Linked DNA regions of Homo sapiens: region 2 is linked to region 1. Evidence: promoter capture Hi-C in 16 types of primary human blood cells and fetal thymus (Javierre and others, 2016). All regions are on one chromosome and are shown on one strand. Each heading gives the region's core, a stretch centred on a gene start or on the middle of the fragment in contact. The rest is flanking DNA. Distances are from core to core; before and after follow the strand shown.

Region 1 (5,171 bases), core at 1,862-4,361:
AGAGTCTAGCAGTAAAATTTAAAACCAATTCAAGTGAGACAAATTTCACATTGGCTAAATAGAAATTAGTCTGTAAAAGAAGATCTTTTAAAAAGTAACAAAATCTGTAACGTTAAATAAGAGCCAAGTTAGAAAGCACGTTCTGACTTCATAATGAACATTTAATGCTTTTTTGGCAGATAATCTATACTTGTTTCTTTTCTCTTTTGTATAGCACTTATTGATAAAATCTTTCTTCCAGAATATTAGAAGAATGGTTATACGGTTAAATATAGAATAAAATTGGCTTTTTACTCCCATCATTATTAAAAAGGCTTAAAGTACAAAGATTAGACTTGGAGATTTTACATTCTGTACTGTATTAAATCTTTGAACTATCTATTAAATTCAATCACAGGAGATCACTGGATGGCAACAGGGCAGTACTTCCTGCTGATAAAGAGTATAGAAATATTATAGAGATGTCTAGTTATCAACATGATAGGAAAGGGGGCATTATCGGCCTTTAGTGTTGAGGACCGACAATGTAAAATATCCTGTGCAGGATAGTACCTCAGAAGGAAGAATTCTGCTGTAACCTCCAGGCATCTAGTAAGTGAAAAACTTCAGATAAGCACTACCTGAGCCTAGAATTTTTCTGCACTTTGCAAAAATTGCAGAGTATTTTGTCACAGTTTTATTACACCCTGAATTTTCCAGAATTGTAGCTACCATAAACGAAAAGAAGGTTGTACATATTTTGTTTTACATGGAATTTTACCAAGAGCTCAGCATTTTGGAAAATGACACCATTGATGGCAATGTTATTTGAGAAATTTAAGTTGCAATGGCACATCTGTATCAGTCTGCATTTGGGGCTGCTGTGTTCACAGTCATTCTGTGTAAGGCTGGACATCTGACTACTTCCCTATATATTCTAGTGTAGTGGTACTTGAGCGTTTACATGCCAATCTTTTCTTACAATTATTTTCTTTCATTTTACAGTTAGCACACTATCAATATTTAAAACTATATTAAATATGTAAGATTATAATCTATGATATTGATTTCAGGATAGCAAAGCAGCCTTACAACATATATGCTATAAAAACCAAGTACTGGATCAGATAGGGTGGAGAACAACTGATCCAGACATATATACCAAAGTGGTCATGAAATAAAGTGCAGAAATTAGTGCACAAATTTGTTCTGGGTGTTTGTTTTAGTATTCTAGCATTTTGTTTCTATTGCTAACCGATGAGAAATGCTTTAGATTTAAACACATAAACATGTTCTGATGTGTATGTGTGAGACTCTTGAATTTCCCATTGTTGTGTAAAATAAGTGCAAATCAGTGTAAAATAGTGTGAAATAAGTGCAAATAGCTTTATCTTATACAGAAAGGCTTAGGTGAAAGTTCTGTCTGTCTTTAATCTTAAGTATAACATTTGTTTTGGTAATCTTATAAAGATTGCTTCTTGCACATTTTTAAAGAAAAAATGCGAAATTAAATAGATTATGTAACGCTATGGTAGTCAACATACCATATAGTAACTTCTTGAAGGACCCTTAACACAGAATTAAGAAATGCAAAATCGTTATTTTCGTCAAGATAAATTTTGACAGAAATGTAACATTTGAATCTATTCAAATTGTATTTCCAAGTCTAGTGAACCGTAGCAATGCACAAGTTTTATTCAAGAAGGTTGGTGAGTTTAAGAAAACCTCAGGGTGGCCTATGACAATCCAGAAGGCAAGATCAATGTTATTAGAAAATAAATAAATAAATAAATGGTGTTCAAAAATGGTCGGCATAACTCAAAACTAAGATTTTAAAATCAAGACCAGTTGCTCCCCGGTTTCTGCCCATTGCCAAGCTCTTTTGGCTTAAGAACCATAGTTAAAATGAATCCATGTAAATACACAGCACACACCTTTGAAGTAAAGAAAGTAAGTTTAAAGATTAAAAGGAAAAAAGTTTTGGTTACGTGTTTACATAAACTGGGATGTTTACATAAACTGGGAATCACTTAGCACTCATTTTTCTCTTTATCCAATAGATACCACAGATTGTTTTTCTTTCTAAAGGTCAATTTCAAGCTTCCAGCATCATTAGTGAAATGAAACCCATTCGGTAATCACATCGTTAACACTTAAACAGAAGCACAACCGAATTCTTTAGGGGGCTACGGAAAGGCAGCCATCAGCTCTGAGATCTATGAAATGTGGTTGGTAACATCCACGGGGAGTCCGCGCATACACTGCTTTCTGAGAATGCAGAAGTTACTCAGTAAGACCGACAGAAAATCGAACTTTTAGACATGACATGAACAGGGCCCTAAGTAAAACCAAAGCTAAGCCTAGTGTGGGATGACGGCCCCCACCAGACTCGTTACAAGAAGGGGGCGTCAGAGCTGAGACCCTAAGTTTCCAGGAATGGATTCGGTAAGGGGACGAGGAGGGAAGGGACGGCGAAAACCACGCTGGGAGCGGGAGGCAGAGCTGCAAAGGGCGGAGGAGAAAGACGGGCTGGGGGAAGGAGAGGCAGGGAAGCGGCGGGAGAAGTGGAGAGCGGATCCGGGAGGTGATGGGGCCGAGGTAGTGCAGAGAGGGGCGCAGGGACTGAGGAGCAGACGGTCCCCAACCTAGGGCCGAGGCAGGGTCTCGCGGGGAGGAAGGAGTGAGATGGGGCTGGGAGAGAGAAGGGAAGGGGGCGGGTCTTGGTCCCCGGGAGGGAAAGGGGAGCAGGCGAGAGCGGCAGCGGCGGGGCCAGAGAGCCGCCTCTGTTTCCCGATCCACGCGGGCGGCTGCAGAACCCCTGCGGGGGTGAGCGTGGAGACCCCCAGCCGCACTCACCTGCAGCACCCTGCCCCCCGCAGTCGGCGCCCGCCTGTTGCTAGGACGCGGGTCAACACTGCGCGCCCTGCGGCCGCGCACGCCGGCGCCCTTGTGGGAGGCCTACAGGGCCCGTGCCCTCCCCCGGGCGCCGCCGCCGCCGCCTTCCGCTCCCAGCCTCACCCGGCCGCGACCGCAGCCCAGTCCGTTACCCTGGTCTCGGGACCTCCGCGCATCCAAGATTCCCGCGGACCCGTTGCACCGTATGCCCGCGCCAGAGACGCTCTGCGCCCGCGCTGGGTTCCACCCGCCCCGGCCACCTGCTGCTTTCCGCTCGGCCCCTCCCGGGAAACACTTTTATTCAACTTTGCATCTCCCTTTCTCAAACACTTTTATGCAACTCCCGAGTGTGCACCCTAACTCACTCCACGCGGTGGGAAAGGTTGACTTTGACAGAGGTCGTGAGCAGTTGCGGGGTCGGCGGCAAGTTAGCAGAAAACTTAAAATGGAGCAGAAAGGAAGCAGAAAATATTCCTTAGAAACCCCTTTTTACATTTTTCCATAGGCTTCCAGACAAGTGCGTTGTATGTACCTGAAATCTTCACTGAGTACCCCCAAATAGCATAGGGCTTCTCCTAGGATATTTGAGGCTTACATGTTTCTCTCCAAAAAAACAAATATGGTAGAATACTCTGATACTCACCGGGAAAGCAGAAAGCGCTCTTCAATAGGGCAGAGGATCGGAGTGAAATGAAAACATGTCCCCCATCTCTTTTTTTAAATGGCCTTTACCTTTGTCCATTAAGATGGTTTTGACCCCACCTCTAGACACCCTACCAGCAAGAGCCCCAACTGGAACACCAGTGAGGGATAAAGGAGTGGGAATATTGAGGTGGGGGGGGATGGGGAAGAATGCACTATCTTGGGGTGGGGGGACACGGTGTTTAAGGACCAATGCCGGAGCACTTAGGATGATGGGGTGTTTAGGAATTAAAACTGGATTCTTTTCCGGATGCCAAAGAGGCAAATGTGGAATGATGTTAGGATATCACCTGTCATAATATTATACGGATTCAGCTCAAAGCAGAACCTTTCTGCAAACACGTAGGGATATGAGGTATAGATATTTGTCCTTTGTTTTGGGTTTTTTGGAGGGTGGGGGACGAAGTCTGGCTCTATCACCCAGGCTGGAGTGCAGTGGCACGATCTCGGCTCACCGCAACCTCTGCCTCCCATCTCGGCTCACCGCAACCTCTGCCTCCCGGGTTCAAGAGATCCTCCCCCCTCAGCTTCCTGAGTAGCTGGGATTACAAGAATGCGCCGCCATGCCCGGCTAATTTTTGTACTTTTAGTAGAGACGAAGTTTCACCATGTTGGCCAGGTGGGTCTTGAACTCCTGACCTCAAGTGATCCACCCACCTCGGCCTCCCAAAGTGCTAGGATTACAGGCATGAGCCACCATGCCTGGCCTGTTTTGGGTTCTTTTCTTCTCTTTTTGAAAGTGCGAAAGTTGTTAGGAATGGAATAGTTTCACCTAAAGGAGATACTACCTGCAGAGAAGCTTAGACTTGCAACCAGTGAGAAAGGGGCTTATGCTAATAGGTATACAGAGAAGCCCTTTTAAAAATGGGTGGATTACAGTCTGAGACAACAGCATCACACCTGTGGCGGTAATGCAGGTCACAACCTGGTGAGGAGCAGAGGGCATCCTTCGGAAGGATCCTGGAGTAGTCCCAGTCCTGGAAGCAAGGAAGCTTCTGTGGGTACTTTAGTTCCTCTGCACATTTTAATCAGCTGTATGACATAAGGGAGCATTACTGGGTCCAATGTGGATGCCAGCCAGAGATCTTCCAAGTTCAGGACATTTCACCTTGGTTTGCAAAGCTGGAAAAAGCCAGAACCCACCAAGATCTGAGCAACTATGTCGTTGTTTGCCAAATTCATGCCAAGTTGCTTAATCTGATGCCAAAATGTGAATTTATTTTACCGGATATTTTCCAAGCAAAAATAACTTAATAATATTTAAATCTGAAGAAGTCCCAGTCGCCTCTTTCCAATTTTTCCTTGTCGTGATGAAACACTACCTGGGCCCAGTCACTCCCTGAAGGATTTATCATGACTTGTTTTTTTTTTTTCTTTTTTTTTTTTTTGAGACGAGGTCTCATTCTGTCACCCAGGCTGGAGTGCAGAGTGCAGTGACATAATCATAAGCATAGCTCACTGCAGCCTCTGATTCCTGGGCTCAAGTGATCCTCCAGCCATGGCCTCCGAAAGCACTGGGATTACAGCCATGAACCACTGTGCCTGGCCATAACTTGTCTTTGCCTTGTTGCCCATCTGCTACCCCTACAAGGTAA
Region 2 (5,171 bases), core at 729-3,228, 250 kb before region 1:
TCCGGACTGCGGAGCGCGACCGGCGTGAGGCCGCGCGTGGTTCTTCAATCACAGCAGAAGACTAAAGCCTCTAGGAACCCCAACTCGGGGCGTCAGGAGGGGTTGGATGGAAGGGAAGATTTGGGGTAATGTGCCAACCGTATCCACAAGACCCCCCAGCTCATGAGTCCCAGGCCATACCGGGATTTGGGGGATTTTCGTGTTTTCTAGATCGTGGATGGTTTGGTTGAAACCCCCGCATCTTCTGTCCGCCAAGGTCCCCCGGGGTGAGGTTGGGTTCAAGGACAGGAAAAAGTTAAGTGGCGTCAGGACGAAAGCACCACTTCTCCCCCTTCTCTCCCAGAATCTTCCTATCATCCCCCAACGCGCCCCGGGAAGTGCATGGTCCTAAGGTCCAAGGCGCCAGGACCCAGGTCCCCAGAGCCCTCAATCAGTGCCATTCTCTTCCGCAGCGCGGGTGTCAGCCGCGAGCTCGTAGCCCCTCGACACCCGCCTCTCTCTGGGGTCTCCGGGGACCCTTTCAGAGGCTGTAAAGGTGTCAGAAGCCCAAGGCAGGAGGCAGCTTGGTCGGCGCACCTCCCGGGCCACTGCTGCCACTGTCGGGGAGAGCCAGCAGCTCACCTCTGGGGTCGCGGAGGCCCTGAGCCTCTGCCTGCCGCGCACCGGCGTCAGGAGCAAGTCCGCGCGGCCGCGGAGCCGCAGAGTTACAGCCCCAAGGCGCGCGGCGGACTTCGCCCGCCCCATCTCCTCGCCTCGCGCCTCGGGACAGCTCCCGTTTCCTCCGAGCGGCCTCAGCTTCGCTGCCAGCGCCCCCTTTGCCCGTCCAGCCGCGGCATGGGCTGCTACTCCACTAACACACGCGCGCGCGCATACACACACACACACACACACACACACACACACACCCTTTGCCTCGCCAAGCGCCCACACTCGCCAACGCCCCCGCCCCGCCCTTCGGCCACCGCAGCAGAGGCCACGCGTGACATTTAGGACCACGCGTGACCACCGCGATCAAACGACGGCTACGGTCTGTGTTCGTAGGGAAGTGAAGTCAGACCTCTGCTGGATGTCGTGTGTCCCCTAGGACTGCGTCCTCCCGCGCAGACAGGTACGTGCCTGGGGTGTGCACATAGCCTCGGTGATAAGTGTCAAAGAGAATTTTCGTGCTTGCAGCCCCTGTTCTACAGTCAAGACTCGCGTTGGTGTTTTCTTTTAAAATCATGCCCTTAGGGATGTGTGTTCATGCTGCTTTATTTGTACAAGACACCCTTCCCCGGCCCGGCCTTCTCCGAGCCACCCCAGCGCGTCCTCCTAGATGCGACGACGTGTTTTTCCTAGCGAAGTCATCACGAGGTTAGCCACCTCGGACACTTCCCCGGCAGCCCCAAGCCCACGCAGAGATCGCAGACACAGACACCCGGCGCGCTGTAGGTCTGCAGGCAGCAGGCTCAGAGGCAAGCGATGGCAAAGGTCCGAGCGCTGTCCTGTCGCAAGGGGTCCGGGGGCGTGTGAACCACACTTGCTGACCCTCCCAGGACTCCCGCGCGCGGCCACCCGCGCCTCTTCTCAAATCACTTACCCCGATTCACTCCAGACTGTGGCCGGGGAGGTCACTCCCTGCAGAAGTGTCCCCCTCCCCCAACGCCGGCGAATAATTTTAAAGCAAAGGAGGCGCGGCCAGGTGGGCTCCCAAGCTCCGCGCAGACCCTTGGGCCAGCCTTGGCCGCTACCCGAGCGCCTCTCCACCAGACCTTGGAGGGAAGTTGGGGGAAGGGCGGGAGAGCACCGGCGCCCAGGGCGCAGGGGCCAGAGCGAGCCTGGCGTTCCGCCGCAGCCGGCTGAGACTCGGCGACGCGGGGGCTGTACCTGTGGCTGCGGGGCCGACGGCCGGCTGCAGGGCGGCTGGCTCTCCCGCCTCGAGACTAGGCGCACTCCCATCCCCGCCGCATGTTCTCCACGCGGGCTCCAGCGCGCTCACCACCGCCACCGCCGTCGTCTCGGCTTTATTTACCCAGCCCGGCGCGCGCCGCCCGGGAACAGGAATAGCGAGGCCTTCTCATGTTTCCTGACTGCCGGTCCCAGCCGGCGAACATCCTGCGGGCGCGGTATCCACGTTCCCGGGCGGGTGGAGAGGAAGCGTCCGCGCCCGCCCGGCCGCGGGGGCTGCTGTTAACCCCTAGCAGAGGAGCCGCTGCCGGGGAGCCCCGGGCCCGCCGAGTCCTCCGGAGCCGGGCGCGGCTCCCAGATCCGCCGGCCTTGCAGTCGTGGAGCAGACGGGGCTTTTCCCTTCGCACTTTAGGAGAGAAATTGGAGAAGCTGCCGGGAGCGCTCGGCTCCGGCTCCAGAAGCTGAGAGGCTGCGGTGCAAATCCCGTGTCTTAGCTGGCCCGATTGCCGGAAATTTCACTGCGCGTGGCTAGGCGGGAGAGGCCACTGTGACGCGCCCTGTATTTTCCTCTCGATTAGCTGGAGGGAAGTTAGAGCTCCGTTTTGCACCTACAGCCCTGGAGCGTATTGCGGGAAGTGCTAGTGCCCAGGAGCCTCTTTTCTGATGTCACTGGGCTTCTGGGGTCCTAGTTGTCTCAGTCAAAGCCAGGCACACATTCACCTCCGGGGCAAGGGCTGGTGAGGCTGCCCTCGCCGCTGGGTATAGGGATGGGGGAAAGCAAGGATGGGATGAGTTCAGCCCAGGTGGCCAACCCGCGGTGGCCCAAGTGCAGAAGAGGAAGCGCGCCCAAAGCCAAGGATCTGCACGCAGCAAAGGAGATGGAACTTAGAAGAATCACAAGCTGGGACACAGGGCAAAGAGAGAGAATGGCTACCAGATTCTCTGATTGATGATACTTTGCTTCCTAACATTACCGCAAATATAAGTAGCGAAAGCGGCGGTTTAGGTGCAACTGCAAGCTCAGAGCTTCTGGCAGCCCAGAAGATCCCCAAGGTGCCAACACGAAGCTGCCTGCGCTCTCGCCGAAGGCCCTGTGGTCCTAGCGAACTTTCGCCCTTTTTAAAGAACAAACTTAGATTTCCCCCCACCAAGCTTAAAGAAATAGCGCCATTTGTCCTTTTCCCCTCTAAATGCGGCTGGCCAGAGCCGGGGCAGTGGCCCACCTTAGCATCTTCTTCGTGTGTGTGTGTGTGTGTGCGCGTGTGTGTGTGTGTGTTTGTGTGTTGGGGGGGTCGCTAGAAGTGCTTAAAATATATACCAAAACTATTATTTTAAAGACTAATCACACCCTCAAATTTCATATGTGTCACCTCCCAAATTACGCGATAGCAAACCGTTGTGCAGGGGTACAATGTAAACCATAAAGGAAGGCCGGTTTACATTTTTGCGCACCAGGAAGATACAAAGTATCATTGGAGCACGTTCTGATGTCCTCGGTTCTCTTTTGTTATATAACTTGCTGTTGCAGCGCTTGCATCTTGTCTTTGGCGCTGCCCTTGTGGTGTGAGTTCAGTACAGGCTTCTGGTCTACAGACCTCGCTGTAGGAGCTTAAAGACAGGGGTAAATCCTAAGGTTTCAGCCATCAATTTTCAGCTAACAAATTTCACCACAGAAGCAGATCTAATTGATAATTCATAGGACAAAAGAGCCACCTTCTCTTTTATGGTCTCTATCAGTGGTGTTAGTCACCGGGAATTGTAATGAAATTAGCTCTAACATACCCCTGAAACATTTTTTGGTCAGCTGTCCCAGGTAAAGCAATAGGCATCATACAGTTACTTGCAATTTCCCAGTATTCTACTAACTTTTTGAGCTATATGCTATAGTACATGTTAGTATAGGACAAATGAATTTTGTTGTTTTAGTACTTAACTATATTTACTCAATTTAAAAATGCATTTAGAGCGCTTTTAAGATATACTTACATGTAATATTTGTTTTCTTAAAGTCTGAAATGAAATATACAGCAAAAATCTTAATGCAAAAATACTTTTCATTTGATATAGGAATAAAATACATTTGAGTAAGCCTCAACTCACTAAAAAATTAACATATGGTAATTCCCTTAGACTATGATTTAATAATTAAAATCCATTTAAAAATGAAAGAAGAGTGAAGGATCCATTCTAGAAGTGAAATGGTGTGAAATATCCCTCTGTAATATACCAATGGGCATTTATTTTATTTTTGCAAGTTTTATCCTCTATGCAAAAGGGAAGTGTTGTCTTCATTTTAATCCACACTTCAAATACATTCATTATTAAATTACACCTATTTCTAAAATAAATGTTACTCAGCCTCTTGTGCTATATCCAATGTCAGTATATGAAATGCTATATATAATCCTCAGAAGTAAAGCTTCCAGTTTCAGAAAGTTTTAGAAGATTTAAGAAAGCATATGTAGTTTGTGGAAGATGGCCTTATGCAGGGGGAAAAAAAACCCAAAACACCCAACAACTTAGACCAGAAGTCAGAAGACTTGAGCCCTAATCTTAATTCTGGTTAATTTGATGATGGTTTAGCCTGAATTTAGTAAAGTGTAAAATGACGGTAATAAGTTTTCCACAAACTGCCTTACACTATTATGAAGGGTTTCTTTTTTTTAATGTGAAAGTAAGATACTGCTTTGCTAAAGCTAGAAAGATGTTAAGTAAGAACATTTGAAAGAAATATTAATTCATTGTATTGGACTCTGCAGTTATAAATATATGTAATTATTACTTTCTGGTAAAGAAAAAAATAAGTCTTCAGTTTTAGCATTTTGATATTTTACCAAATTACCCTGACATTTCAGAATAAATATTAGTCAAAATGTTTGAAAATAATGAGTGTTTTAAAACTCCTTTTTCCAGTTATTACTTATGAGCAATAAAGCAAACTACAAAGCCAGAGAATGACTACAACTTCCTGCTCAAATGGTATAAAACAGTAAGTTAATGAACAAATAGCAGGTTCAGCTCACACGTGGACAGTTTGATGGCAGAGATACATACTGGAGTGTGTAAGGGGAACAACAGAACAAGTGGTGAGACATACCGCTGCAGAAACACTGTGAGCTAAGCAGTAGAATGAGTGGCCACGAAGGATCTCACAAGGTGTTTCTGCTTTGTTTATAAGTTAATTTTAGTTCCATAAATAACACAGAATGAATAACGCCTTCTTACAGGGAGGGTCTTTTGCATAAATCCACTCTCAAACAAAGAAGAATACAAGCGAAAGTCCC

Evidence for each region. Contacts are between HindIII fragments. The CHiCAGO score rates a contact against its expected background, and 5 or more counts as called.
Region 2: a contact is called between the fragment with the promoter of MKX here and the fragment with the promoter of ODAD2 in region 1, in 15 of 17 cell types (M0 macrophages, M1 macrophages, total B cells and 12 more). The highest score is 9.7, in M0 macrophages.

The regions. Positions count from the first base shown.
Region 1 is chr10:27,995,968-28,001,138 of GRCh38, forward strand. It overlaps ODAD2 (outer dynein arm docking complex subunit 2), which reads right to left and starts at 3,112. Exons shown (of 20, transcript NM_018076.5): 1 at 3,027-3,112. The HindIII fragment of the contact is 2,296 bases long and covers 2,078-4,373 here.
Region 2 is chr10:27,743,841-27,749,011 of GRCh38, forward strand. MKX (mohawk homeobox) reads right to left here and starts at 1,979. Exons shown (of 7, transcript NM_173576.3): 1 at 1,867-1,979. MKX-AS1 (MKX antisense RNA 1) reads left to right here and starts at 775. Exons shown (of 2, transcript NR_121652.1): 1 at 775-1,108. RefSeq lists an enhancer at 1,470-2,060. The HindIII fragment of the contact is 8,324 bases long and covers 1-3,037 here.